Linked DNA regions of Homo sapiens: region 1 is linked to region 2. Evidence: promoter capture Hi-C in 16 types of primary human blood cells and fetal thymus (Javierre and others, 2016). All regions are on one chromosome and are shown on one strand. Each heading gives the region's core, a stretch centred on a gene start or on the middle of the fragment in contact. The rest is flanking DNA. Distances are from core to core; before and after follow the strand shown. Region 1 overlaps PLA2G4C (phospholipase A2 group IVC). Region 2 holds the start of SULT2A1 (sulfotransferase family 2A member 1).

Evidence for each region. Contacts are between HindIII fragments. The CHiCAGO score rates a contact against its expected background, and 5 or more counts as called.
Region 1: a contact is called between a fragment that was not itself captured here and the fragment with the promoter of SULT2A1 in region 2, in 1 of 17 cell types (M2 macrophages). The highest score is 5.0, in M2 macrophages.

What each region holds. Positions count from the first base shown.
Region 1 is chr19:48,088,593-48,095,660 of GRCh38, forward strand. It overlaps PLA2G4C (phospholipase A2 group IVC), which reads right to left. Exons shown (of 17, transcript NM_003706.3): 7 at 6,872-7,012; 8 at 1,772-1,825; 9 at 94-120. Among named protein-coding and RNA genes, the nearest start is that of PLA2G4C, 19 kb to the right of the region's middle. The HindIII fragment of the contact is 3,587 bases long and covers 1,549-5,135 here.
Region 2 is chr19:47,882,281-47,889,566 of GRCh38, forward strand. It overlaps SULT2A1 (sulfotransferase family 2A member 1), which reads right to left and starts at 4,035. Exons shown (of 6, transcript NM_003167.4): 1 at 3,842-4,035; 2 at 1,297-1,505. The coding sequence starts at 3,977. The HindIII fragment of the contact is 7,780 bases long and covers 1-4,345 here.

The DNA of each region.
Region 1 (7,068 bases), core at 2,092-4,591, 210 kb after region 2:
CATACATGTAATGTTCCTAGGACAATGGCTGGCCTCAAGCAAGTGTGCGGTCCCCATTATCATCAGGGATTCATGATGAAGTAGGATGCTTACCTTTCAGGGTCAGATTCCTTAACTGGTCTGCAAAAGAGTAGAAGCAGGAGGAATGTTTATCTGTACAACAAAGTCCCTAGTTATAATATAAAAAATACAGATGACCTGCAGGGATATTTCATTAATAGAAATGGCAGCCATGGGCTCCAATGGCAGCCAATGGCTCTCGAGAGCCAATTTTGCACCTCTCTTCCAACTCTGTGCTCAGTGACCTCATGTTGGTAGCCTGAAGTTGGCCACGGTGGGAACATTTACACCACAGGAATTGGCAAACACTACATATCAGGAATTTTGTTTTTGTTTTTTAGAGAGAAAGCTTAGCAGACCCACTGGAGAAGTAACACTCAGACCCATCTCACACCTTTAGTTAGCCATTTGGAGGTTGGATATAGATAGATTCCCTTTTTAGTTTTGTTTTTAACCAAGCTATGGTGAACACCAATGTCAAAGAACAACATCAGCCCGGGCGTGGTGGTTTATGCCTGTAATCCTAGCACACTGGGAGGCTGAGGCAGTGAATCACTTGAGGTCAGGAGTTCAAGACCAGCCTGGCCAACATGGTGAAATCCTGTCTCTACCAAAAATACAAAAATTAGCCAGGCACGGTGGTGCGCGCCTGTAGTCCCAGTTACTCGGGAGGAGAGTTGCTTAAGCCTGGGAGGTGGAGGTTGCAGTGAACTGAGATCATACCACTGCACTCCAGCCTGGGCAACAGAGCAAAACTCTGTCTCAAAAAAACAAACAACAAAAAAAGTCAAAGTGTAAGAACTAGGACAGTGCCTGGCACACAGGAGGTCCCATGAATATACATTAAATGAATGACGAGTGGTTTAGGGTGTGAACTCAGTAATGATCCTAAAAATAAGATTAACATGTAATGAAACACTCCCATGTGTCAGGCTTGGCTCTAAGCATTTTACATACATGAGGTCATTTAAACCCCACATCAAATATACGAGACTGCGACTACGTACTATTGTCTCCATTTTAGGAAGGGGAAATTGGGTCACAGAGAATTTAAGCAGCTTTCCAGAGTGAGCAGTGCAGGAGAAGCAGAGCCGGGATGTGGATCCAGGCAGACAGGCTTTGGATCAGAACCACCACACTATTCCCCTAGAGATCCACCACCCAGTTCTCCTATAGATCCCCGCGTCTGCACTCACTGACCAGCAGTGTGGGTGAGTCACGCATCCTTCCCACGACTTGGTGGATCTCAGCAAAATGGAAGGGACAAAAGCGTCTGCCTCTTAGGGTATTAAAGGGGTTAAATGTTAAATGAGGGACCAGGTAATGATTGCTAATGTTTACTGAGTGCCGTTATCTACCAGGCACTGTCCTACAAGCTTTCAATGAATTAACTCATCAAATATTCATAACTACTGTTATTATCACCCGCATGGCACAGAGGCAGAAACCGAGGCACAGAGAGGTTAAGTAACTTTTCGGAGGTCACAAAGCTTACATGTACCAGAGCAACATTCCTTCCAAGGGAGTCTGTACTCTCATCCACTCTGTGGTCATCCTGGCTGCCCAATTATATGAGAATAAATGTCAGGAAAAGCAGTTGCTAGAACAATTACACACAGGTCTCTCTTCTGCCATGAGTAGGAAAAGTACTGTGAATCTCCTTGCATAAAATATCTCTAGGGTTTGACCTTTCTGTTCCCCAAATACTCACCAAAAATGTATTCCCTAATGACTTCAGTGTTACCAAGAGCACTTCCCCATAAACCTGCCAAGAAAAGAGCAATAAAATTCAAACATTCTCCATCACGTGACTGTCATGTTTGATATTCAAAGCACCAGCAGACTGGCATAAAGCACTGCAGGGATCTGCAGCAGGAAGAAAGATCTTTCTTCCATTCCATAAATATTTATGAAGCAATTAGTGGGCACCCGGCACTCTTCTGGCTGTTGGAATAGAGCAGTAAACAAGACAGATAAAGTCCTTGTCCTCACGAACCTTCTATGGGTGGAGCCAGCCGGGCACTGTAGACTGGCTACCCCAAGGCCATTTCAAGCTCCTGTCCATGCCAACCCTTCTCAGCACACAGGCAGGAAGGGCAAATATTTCCCAGCCTCCCTTGCAGCTAGGGGACGGTCAAGCTCTGGTCCATGCACACTGCTGGGGGGACTTCTGCAAAGTGCTTGTTCTCCTTCTCAGAAGGAGCAGGCCAGGTATGGTGGCATGCAACTCTAGTCTCAGCTACTTGGGAGGCTGAGGCAGGAAGATCACTTGAGGCCAGGAGTTCAAGACCTGTATTGGGCTATGACTGTGCTTTTGCACGGCAGCTTGAGTGACAGAGAGAGACCCTGACTTCAAAAAAAAAAAAAAAAGTTGCAGCTTCATTGGATGCAGCCGCCATCCCGTGGTGTGGAGGAGTTCAGCATGAGGGTGACTTAATATGCTAAGGATGGAGGAGCAGAAAATCTAGAATAAACCTGGGTCCTTCTGCTTAATGTTGCACAGCTAAACCAATGTCACCAGCCACCTAACTTTGTATTATTTATTTATTTTGAGATGGGATCTCGCTCTGTTGCCCAGGCTGGAGTGCAGTGGTGTGATCTCGGCTCACTGCAACCTCTGCCTCCCAGATTCAAGTGATTCTCCTGCTTCAGCCTCCCGACTAGCTGGGATTACAGGCATGCACCACCACGCCCTGCTAATTTTTGTATTTTTTAAGTAGAGACGGGGTTTCACCATGTTGGCCCGTCTGGTCTTGAACTCTTGACCTCAAGTGATCTGCCCGCCTCGGCCTCCCACAGTGCTGGGATTTCAGCTGTGAGTCACGGTGCTCAGTCTGTCTTTTTCTTTTGTAAGAAAATTAATCCCACATGTCCTCGGGGCACTGTGGTTGGTTAGTGACTTTTAGCCAAACACATTTGTATATGATACAGGGAGACATAAAAAATGAATAATCAGCCAGGCACGGTGGCTCACGCCTGTAATGCTAACACTTTGGGAGACTGAGGTGGGCGGATCAATTGAAGTCAGGAGTTTAAAGTCAGCCTGGCTAACATGGTGAAACCCTATCTCTACTAAAAAATACAAAAATTAGCCAGGCCTGGTGGTATGCACCTATAGTCCCAGCTACTTGGGAGGCTGAGGCAGGGGAATAACTTGAACCTGGGAGGTTGCAGTGAGCAGAGATCACACAACTGCACTCCAGCCTGGGAGACAGAGTGAGACTCCATCTCAAAAAAAAAAAAAAAAAAAAAAAAAATAGACACACCCATTAGGATGGCTGGTATCCAAAAAACCCCAGAAAACAATAAGTGTTGATGAGGACGTGGAGAAATTGGAAACCTGGGACACCATTGGGCAGAATATAAAATGGTACAGCCACTGTGGAAAATGGTATGGTCGTTCCTCAAAAAAAAAATTTTTTTTTTTTTTGAGATAGCCCAGGCTGGAGCGCAATGGCGCGATCTCCGCTCACTGCAGCTTCCGCCTCTCGAGATCAAGAGATTCTCCTGCCTCAGCCTCCTGAGTAACTGGAATTACAGGCATGCACCACCATGCCCGGCTAATTTTGTATTTTTTGTAGAGATGGGGTTTCACCATGTTGGTCAGGCTGGTCTCCAACTCCCAACCTCAGGTGATCCACCCGCCTCGGCCTCCCAAAGTGCTGGGATTACAGGCATTAGCCACCACACCTGGCCTCAAAATTTTAAAAGTAGAATTACCACATACATGATCCAGCAATTCTACCTCTGAGTATATACCCAAAAGAATTGAAAGCAGGGTCTCAAAGAGATATTCATAGACCCATGTGCATGGCAGGTTCCTTCACAACAGCCAAAAGGTGAAAGCAATCCATGTGTCCATCGATGGATGAATTGATAAGCAAAATGTGGTATATTCGTACAATGGAATATGATTCAGCCATAAAAAGAAAGGAAATTCAGACACATGGTACAACATGGATGAACTTCGAAGTCATTTTCCTCAGTGAAATCAGACAGACACAAAAAGACAAGCACTGCATGATTCCATTTACATGTCATACTCAGAGTAGTCAAAATCGTAGAGGCAGAAGGTAGCATTGTGGTTGTCAGGGGCTAAGGGAGGGGGTGACAGGGACTTAGTATTCAATGGGCGTAGAGTTCCAGTTTTACAAGATGAAAAGTGTTATGGAGATGGATGGCAGTGATGGTTGCACAACATTATGAATGTATTGTATTTATACCACTGTACTTGACACTTTAAAATGGTTAAAATGGCAAATTTTATGTTATGTTTATTTTATAATAATAAATAAAAAGCACCCTGGTGTGTGAGGGGAGGGATAAAATACACGTACAGAATCCCTTCAGTAGGTGATACATACATCTAAGGAAATAATAATGTTATAGGGAGTACCTGGGAGTGACAATTTCAAAATCTCTGATGCCCAAGACCAGATTTAGCAAAGAGATGGTGGGGATAGGAGACAGGAGCCAGGCTTGGCAATGTGAAGGACCCCGTCTGTCCAGACCAGAGAAAAGGGGAAGATCCCCTTCATCCTACCTTGTTCTCCTCCCCTGAGAACACCCCTCCATCTACCAGGTTGCAGAAGCTGGAACCTTTGATGTCATCTCTGATTCTCCTTACTCTCCACATCCAATCCAGGTGTAATTCTTCTTCATCCATCTCCAGGTTTCCAGAGTCCATCCACTTCCCTCCCATATCCATTCTGGTACCCAACCTTAAACTGCCATTATCTGTCACCAGGACCATTAGCTTCTCAACTGCTCCCAACTTCTAAGTTTACACACCCACCCCTAATCCATGCTCAGAGAGAGAGAGAGAGAGTGAGATGTTTTACCATATAAACTGAATCGGTCACCACCCTAATTAAACTGCCTCCCTGGCTCTCCTATCGCACTTGGAATCCAAACTAAACTTCATCTGTGTCCTTCAGGGTCCCATATGATCTGGACCCTGCCTACCTCTCTAGCCCTCTCTCTCAGCCTCATTCAGGAGGCTCCAGCCTCACTGGTCTTCTCATTGGTTCTAGAGTAAGACAAACTTGGTCCTGGCTTAGGGTCTGATATGGTTAAGCTTTATGTCCCCACCCAAATCTCTCGAGTTGTAATCCCCAGATGTTGAGGGAGAGACCTGGTGGGAGGTAATCAGATCATGGGGGCAGATCCCCCCATGCTGTACTCGTGATAGCGAGTGAGTTCTCACGAGATCTGATGGTTTGATAAGTGTTGGGCAGCTCTTCTTTGGCTTGCTCTTCTCTCTCCTGCTACCACTTGAAGAAGGTTCTTTCTTCCCTTTCACCTTCTGCCATGATTGTAAGTTTCCTGAGGCCTCCCCAGCCATGTGAAACTGTGAGTCAATTAAACCTCCTTTGTCTACAAATTACCCAGTCTCGGGTAGTATCTTTATAGTAGTATGAAAACGGACTAATACAGGGTCTCTGCATTTGCTCTTCCCTCTGTCCATGATGCTTTTCCTCTAAGATATCTGCATGGCTTCACTTTTCATCAGGTCCATGCTCAAAGGCCATCTCCTGTCAGAAGCTCTGACCACCAATTAAAAATAATACTGTAGTCACTCTCCAGTCCCTTACCATGAATTATTTTTCAAGATAGCATTTACTATGATCTGACATTATAATACATACTTATTTTTGTGTGTGTTCATTCATCATCTCCTTCCCTGGAGTGCAAACTTCATTAGGGAATGAGCCTTCACTGTCCTGCTCATGACTGAATCCCCTGCATTTAAAATAGTATCAGGCTCCTAGTGTGTCTCAAAAGTGTATGCTAAAATCATGGAGAGTCAACCATCCTTAATTTCCTACCATGTGCTGGACACTGGGCTGAGTGTTTTATTTGTGGATCATACCTAACTCTCACACCCACATTTTGAGGTAAGTACTTTCCCTATGAGAAAAACGAGGCTCAGGTAACATTAATGACTTTCTCAAGCTGGCATGGTTGGTCCTATGTAGGGGAGCTGTCTGCCCAGCAGGGTAATGCCTTCAGACCCTGAATGCTGAGAAGATTATGAAGCCACAACTAAAAGTGATACCAGTGTGTAAGCTACAGTCAAGGACATTTAATCAAGTTCTGATTTTACTCACTATGACTGTTTTGTTTTTGGTTTTTGTTGTAATTTTTTCTGGAAATACCCCATTTAAAAAAAATTGTATGCCCCTTGCTTTGCTGGTGCCCAAAACACATTCTAGTTTTTTGTTTGTTTGTTTGTTTGTTTGTTTGTTTTGAGACAAGATCTTTCTCTGTCATCCAGGCTGGAGTGCAGTGGGGCGATCATAACTCACTGCAGCCTTGAACTCCCATGCTGAAGTGATCCTTCCACTGCCTCAGCCTCCTGAGTAGCTGGGACCACAGGCACATGCCACAATGCCTGGCTAATTTTTAAATCTTGTGTAGAGACACAGTGTTGCTATGTTGCCGAGGTTGGTCTCAAACTCCCAGTCTCAAGGGATCCTCCCAGGTCAGCCTCCCAAAGCACCATGTAATCCCAAACACATTCTGAATCTGCTTATTGGAAGCCACAGCCCTGGACTTGAGCCCCTCTATTAAGCTCCCTCTCCTGGATTGTTTGATAGGATATCAGGTATCTGCCGCATTAAGGAGACCTTTGAGAGACACTGAAGACTCAGCAGAAGGAATACACCATTCCTCTTTCTGGAAGCCTACCAAGTCCTTTTCTTTCCCCCAAGAAATTTAAGAGCTGGGCAAACTAGACCCTCAGAAGGAAAATTCTTGCCTCTCCTCCACTTCCCACCCCCTTTTAATCCCCTCTGACCCCAGCGCTGACCTCTCAGGAAAGTCAGGTCTCTCTCAGGGTGAGTTCTGACCAGTCTTCCCTTCTTGAATTTGCTTCCGAAGTGGGTTATGGAAACAAAGGCCCCCAGTGCAGAGAAGCCAGCGTGGTGAGGGGTGAACTCGAACCAGGTCTCTGCAGAGGAAATACAACGGCAAGTGAGTCCCAGCACAGAACCAGGAATGTAGCAG
Region 2 (7,286 bases), core at 2,785-5,284:
TGGAGAAAAAGCCAATTCCTGGATAATGCCTAATAATATCAATGGATTCTTTTAACAAATTACTTACTGCACTCACTAATCAAATTTGATGTGCCTATGAAGTAGTCACTGCACTAGGAATATATCAATGGAAGAAGGAAGCATCGTTCCTTCCCTCTGGGATATTACAGTCTGCTCACAATGGGAAGAACATGGAAGGTTTCCAAAGGTGAGTGATGTATATTTGTGTACTATGGTTTAAAGATCATTAACAGGAGAATGAATTCATAAATTAAGCTACATTCATAGATATATAGCAATATTATCCATATACAACACCCAAGATCATGGACACATTTCAGAGACATTACTTTGTCCTTTGGGCCAGGCATGGTGGCTCATGCCTGTAATCCTAGCACTTTGGGAGGCTGAATCACTCGAGGTCAGGAGTTCGAGACCAGCCTGGCCAACATAGTGAAACCCTGTGTCTACTAAAAATACAAAAATTAGCCAGGCATGGTGGCGCACACCTCTAGTCCTAGCTACTCAGGAGGCTGGAGCAGGAGAATCACTTGAACCTGGGGAGGTGGAGGTTGCAGTGAGCCAAGATCGCACCAATGCACTCCAGCCTGGGTGACAGAATGAGACTGTGTCTCAAAATAATAATAATAATAATAATTCACACACCTATAAACACCTTCCAGGAAAGTACAATTCTAGAAGCAGTCTGAGCCATGCAAGGTCCTGGATATGCCTTGTCCCTCTTGTGATCACCCCTCTGCCCCATGGGAGATGCATGTGGCTGCTGATATCAACACATATTTACACACAGTAAGACGAAGTGTGTACAGAGCCCAGTCCTGGCCCCGGGGCAGTCAACCTGGATACAGGCATTGATTGATGAACATGCTGCTTCCCATAGGAACACCTCTGTGTCTTTTCTGTGGCAGGAGGCATTTGTTGAATTCAGATTGGCTAATTATTTTTTAGGGCAACCAAAGGCGGTTATCTAGTATATAATATGGCTATACATTCTGATTGCACTTAGAACCTAGTTTTCTAAGATTCTGGGTTAGTGTTTTCACCCTATCCCTGGTTTAAATCTGGCTGGGGTAATCTGTGGAATGGTCTATATCCTTGAACTCAAGGACAGTTCTGGGAGCAGCCACATAGGTGTCACCTAATACGGAATCTCAGGTCTCAACAACACAGACCTGTTGAAGGAGAATGCATTTCAGCAAGATCTCCAGATGACTTATAGGCATATCAGTGTTTGAAAGGCACTGATCAAACACGTCTTAACCATTATGCACTGACCTTGGCCTTGGAACTGAAGAAAGACTTGGGGAATAACTGGATGGGGAGGTGGGAGGAGAATAAACGTGGACTCTCCGTTTCACTGAGTGCTGTATACCCAATCTCACTCTCTACCCAGGGTGATCGCTCCCAGATGGGCACAGATTGGATCCACTTGGCATCCCCCTTGGAGTGCATCAGGCAGAGAATCTCAGCCAACCAGTTTGTTCCTGGAAAAAGAAGGAAAAAAATATATAAAATGTACCATCTCAGCCGGACATGGTGGCTCACGCCTGTAATCCCAGCACTTTGGGAGGCTGAGGCAAGTGATCATGAGGTCAGGGGTTCCAGAATAGCCTGGCCAAGATGGTGAAACCCCGTCTCTACTAAAAATACAAAAATTAGCCAGGTATGGTGGCGGGCGCCTAAAATCCCAGCTACTTGGGAGGCTGAGGCAGAGAATTGCTTGAACCTGGGAGGCGGAGGTTGCGGTGAGCCGAGATCGTGCCATGGCACTCCAGCCTGGGCAACAGAGTGAGACTCAGTCTCAAAAAAAAAAACAAAAACAAAAACAAAAAAAAGTACCATCTCAACCTTAATTTTTTTATTATTTATTTATTTATTTATTTATTTTGAGACAGAGTCTTGCTCTGTCACCCAGGCTGGAGTGCAATGGCACGATCTCAGTTCACTGCAAGCTGTGCATCCCGGGTTCATGCCATTCTCCTGCCTCAGCCTCCCAAGTAGCTGGGACTACAGGCGCCCACCACCACGTCTGGCTAATTTTTTTTTTAATATATTTTTAGTAGAGATGGGGTTTCACCATGTTAGCCAGGATGGTCTCGATCTCCTGACCTCATGATCTGCCTGCCTCGGCCTCCCCAAGTGCTGGGATTACAGGCGTGAGCCACTGCGCCTGGCTTTTTTTTTTTTTTTTTTTAGCGATGAGGTCTCCCTCTGTAGCCCAGGCTAGAGTGCAGTGGTGCAATTATAGCCCACTGCAGCCTTGAACTCGGGCTCAAGTGATCCTTGTACTTCGGCCTCCTGCTTCAGCCTCGCAAGTATCTGAGACCTCAGGCATGTGCCATCGCGCTGGGCTAATTTTTTGAAAAAATTTTATTGTAGAGATCAGGCCTTGCTATGTTGCCCAGGCTGGTCTTGAACGCTTGACCTCAAGCAATCTGCCTATCTTGCCCTCCCAAAGCACTGGGACTGTAGGCGTGAGCCACTGCAGCCAGCTCTCAACCACTTTTTTTTTTTTTTTTTTTTTTTTTTGAGACAGAGTCTTGCTCTGTCACCCAGGCTGGAGTGCAGTGGCATGATCTTGGCTCACTGCCACCTCCATCTCCTGGGTTCAAGTGATTCTCTTGGTCAGCCTCCCGAGTAGCTGGAACTACAGACGTGCGCCACAGCGCCTGGCTAATTTTTTATTTTTAGTAGAGACGGGGTTTTGCCATGTTGGCCAGGCTGGTGTCGAACTCCTGACCTCAGGCAATCCACCTGCCTTGACCTCCCAAAGTGCTGGGATTACAGGTATGAGCCACCATGCCCAGCCTGTCAACCACTTTTAAGCCTACGGTTTCGTAGTGTTAAGTGTTAAGTATATTCCCAGTGCTGCTCAACCAATCTCCAGAGGATTTTTGTGTTGCAAAACCGAAACTCTATGCAGAGCCAGCACCGACTCCCCATTTACCCTTCTCTTCAGCCCCTGGCAGCCGCCAGTGTACTTTCTGTTTCTATGGACTTGATGACTCCAGGTACCTTATGTAAGTGGAATCACACACTATTTGTATTTTTGTGACTGGCTTATTTCATTTAGCATAATGTCCTTGATGTTTATCTCTGTTGTATCATGCATCAGAATTTTCTTCCTTCTCAAGGATGAATAACATTCCATTATAGCTATATACCACATTTTGTTTATTCACTCACCTGTCAGTGGATATCTGGGTTGCTTCCATCTTTTGGCTATTTGCTGAAATCCCTCTTATTATGTTCCCATTGCTCTTGGCCTCTCAGGGCCATGCCACTTCCAATGTCTTCAGCCTCAATCCTCACCGCATCCGCAGTGCTCTTACCGCCCTCCACCCACAGCCCCACTCCCAGAGACATATGATCCTCATCTTTCAGCCCCTTGAGATTGCCTGGCTCTTTTGTGGTTCCTGGCCATTGCCCTGATGATTCTCCTATCTGAAAATAGCCCTCCCCCCAAGTAATTTCATACTCATTCTTTGCATTTCCATTTAAATGCTATTTCTTCTTTCAGGACATCATTGGTCATCCTCAGCCATCCTCCCTCCCACTGCCACCAAACAAACACCTGAATTTGCCTTGGGATTCACTCCTGTGGATTCTCCTAATACCTTAGATTACCCCTCTGAACACTCATCCTACTGTGTAATTTCCTGACTAAATCCTTTTCTCTGATTGTCAATGGTATTAGGCATTCCTCTCTTCCCCTTAAAGCATTGTACACTGTCTGACATAAAGGAAGAACTCCAATCATGCACTGAATGGACAGGAACACAACCACAGCCTTTCTCAGTTCACGATTCTGCCTCCTTACCTGATTTGGGGTAAGTCAATATTATTACATCTTCATCCCTTATCACGAACTCATCACGTACTTTTCTTAAGGTTTCGGATCTGAAACCCATAGTAGGGAAAGCTATGCCTTCAAACCATAAGAAATCGTCCGACATGATGATGACCTCTTCCTGCGTGGTGTGAGGGTTTCAACTGTAGCCACCGCTGGAGGCTGTGGCAGCTACAGGCAGATCAGCTTTTACAGCAAGGATAAAACGATCTTTAACCTTGTCCCAGCATGTCACATGTTTGTTGTAAAGTTTACTTGCTGATAAAGAGAGGTATAATGTGACCCATACTCAAAAGATTGAAGATGTTGAGCAATCATGAACTTATCTAGAGACCATTTTAGGGGTCATCTGAGCTTGCGTTCCTGAGAGTGAACTGCAAGATCGAATAACAAACACGAGGACAAATATTTTTTTTGATAATATGGGTGAATTTATTTCTTAAGGTTTGAGTGCAAACTTAAAAACAAGAACAAAGCTTTTCATCAAGCATAAACACAAAATCTAAATAATCCTGCAATCGTGCATTTTAACAGAAAGTACAAATATGAATACATTATAATTTGTAACTGCATTTAAAAATTAAAATATGTCTCTCCAAATCCAAAAGACCACACAGTCTTTATCTGTTCTCATCTTGTTACCTTAGAAACATTTGTCATATGCTCTCAGGAAAATATAGGCAAGAATTACTAATCAGTTATTCACGATCAAAGAAACATTATTCTCCCTGAGACTTTTTGAATCATTTATCTGTATTTCTGAAGTATCACACAATTATACCTCCACTCTAGAGAAAAAAAGAGTAAGTACAAATATTAGCAGTGTATATATTGTAGTAAATTTTTAAAGTACAACTTTAGTTGATGGCTGACGTGTATGTAATAATTGTGAACAATTTAAACGGTATAAAAATGTGAGATGAAAATCTTTAGACTCAAATACTTGAAAAGTCACTATGAATATGGAAAGATTTGTTTGCATAAACATGTATGTTTTTAGATGGAAAATCAAGAGGTAGTGGCATCTCCCTGTTTCCTTAATAATATTTGGATTTTCACAAAGAATTGGCAGCACCCAACCTTAAGTGTTAATTATGTGTTTGTTTGTTTTTTTTTTTTTTTTGAGATGGAGTCTCACTCTGTCGTCCAGGCTGGAGTGTAGTGGCGCGATCTCGGCTTGCTGCAAGCTCTGCCTACTGGGTTCATGCCATTCTCCTGCCTCAGCCTCCAGAGTAGCTGGGACTACAGGTGCCCGCCACCACGCCCAGCTAATTTTTTGTATTTTTAGTAGAGACGGGGTTTCACCGTGTTAGCCAGGATGGTTTCAATCTCCTGACCTTGTGATCCGCCACGCCCAGCCTAATTATGTGTTTCTAAAGGACCTATACAACAGATCAGTTGGCAGTGTTCTAGCTTTAGGGAGATGGGGGTGGATTGGGGGTGCAAATATCTGAGATAAGATAATGCATGCACTCACACATTTAAAATCACCATTCTAAATGGGAAAAAAAAATCACATATTGGGAAAGTCCAAGAAACTCATTCTTAAGGGATAAACAGCAGGGCAGGAGCAAAAGCTGAATAGAAGTCTACTTGATAATAATGTTTTTTCACTCTTCAAAGGCAAGTTGGGAAGAATGAGAATACTCACATACACATAACTTCAGGGAAAACGTGCCTAGAATTTTACCTTGCAAAACACTGAACAGAAATCTTTACAAAAACCTTCATTCTTGGTCTGGGCACGGTGTGGTGGCTCACGCCTGTAATCCCAGCACTTTGGGAGGCCGAGGCGGGCGGATCACGAGGTCAGGAGATCGAGACCATCCTGGCTAACACGGTGAAACCCCGTCTCTACTAAAAATACAAAAAATTAGCCGGGCGTGGTGGCGGGTGCCTGTAGTCCCAGCTACTCAGGAGGCTGAGGCAGGAGAATGGCATGAACCCGGGAGGCGGAGCTTGCAGTGAGCCGAGATCTCGCCACTGCACTCCAGCCTGGGCGACAGAGCGAGACTCCGTCTCAAAAAAAAAAAAAAAAAAAAGGAAAGAAAAAAAGCCTTCATTCTTGTTTATAATACTTGATTTTTCCCTTATTACCACCCTGTACATCACATTTAAGTATTTTCTTTATAAATATTTTAGAGCAAAAAGAATTTATTTTGTTGCAATGGTGGCCCACATCTGTACAAAACAACCTAAACAAGATATATATGTATATATATATGCATATATATATGCGCATATATATATGCATATATATAAAATGATTAAGAAAAAGTGCAAAGAATAACAGTATTAAGAATTTTTGCATTTTATAGTAACTGTGGTTCAAGCGTGAATATCTATCAGCGATATATAATCCCAGGTTTTACTTTTTAATTTTATTTATTTATTTATTGTTTTGAGATGGACTCTTGCTCTTGTCACCCAGGTTAGAGTGCAATGGCATGATCTCGGGCTCACTGCAACCTCCGCCTGCTGGGTCCAAGCGATTCTCTTGCCTCAGCCTCCTGAGTAGCTGGGATTACAGGCGCCCACCACCACGCCTGGCTAATTTTTGTACTTTTAGTAGACATGGGGTTTCACCATGTTGGCCAGGCTGGTCTCAAACTCCTGACCTCGTGATCCACCCGCCTCGGCCTCCAAAAGTGCTGGGATTACAGGTGTGAGCTACTGCGCCCGGCCAATCCCAGGATTTAATTAAAGATTCAAAAACAAACCACACTCCAAATTACTGCACAAACATCGGTCCCTTATCAAGCAAGTCTGCCCTTCTCCTGAATCTAGTATTTCCAGTTTCTAAACTCTTCCCAAACAGGAAAAAAATATTTTTAATACGCCTCATTTTTTAGGGCACTTTTAGACTTACAGAAAAATTGCAAAGAGAGTACAGAGAGTTCCCATAGTCCATACTTAATTTGGATTTCCTTAGTTTTTATCTCATGCTCGTGTTTTTTTTTTTTTTTTTTGACAGAGTTCTCTCTTTGTTGCCCAGGCTGAAGTGCAGTGGCATGATCCTGGCTCACTGTCTCATGCCCTTTTTTTGCCCCAAAATCCCATCCTGTATAGTACATGACATACACTCATCCTGTCTCCTTGGGCTCCTCTTGGCTGTGACAGTTGTTGCTCAGACTTTCCTCATTTTTTTTTTTTTTGAGATGGAGTCTTGCTCTGCTGCCCAGGCTGGAGTGCAGTGGCACAATCTTGGCTCACTGCAGCCTCTGCCTCCCCAGTTCAAGTGATTCTCCTGCCTCAGCCTCACGAGTAGCTGGGATTACAGGCACGCGCCACTACACCCGGCTAATTTTTGCATTTTTAGTAGAAACGGGGTTTCACCATATTGGCCAGGCTGGTCTCGAACTCCTGACCTCAGGTGATCCGCCCACTTTGGCCTCCCAAAGTACTGGGATTACAG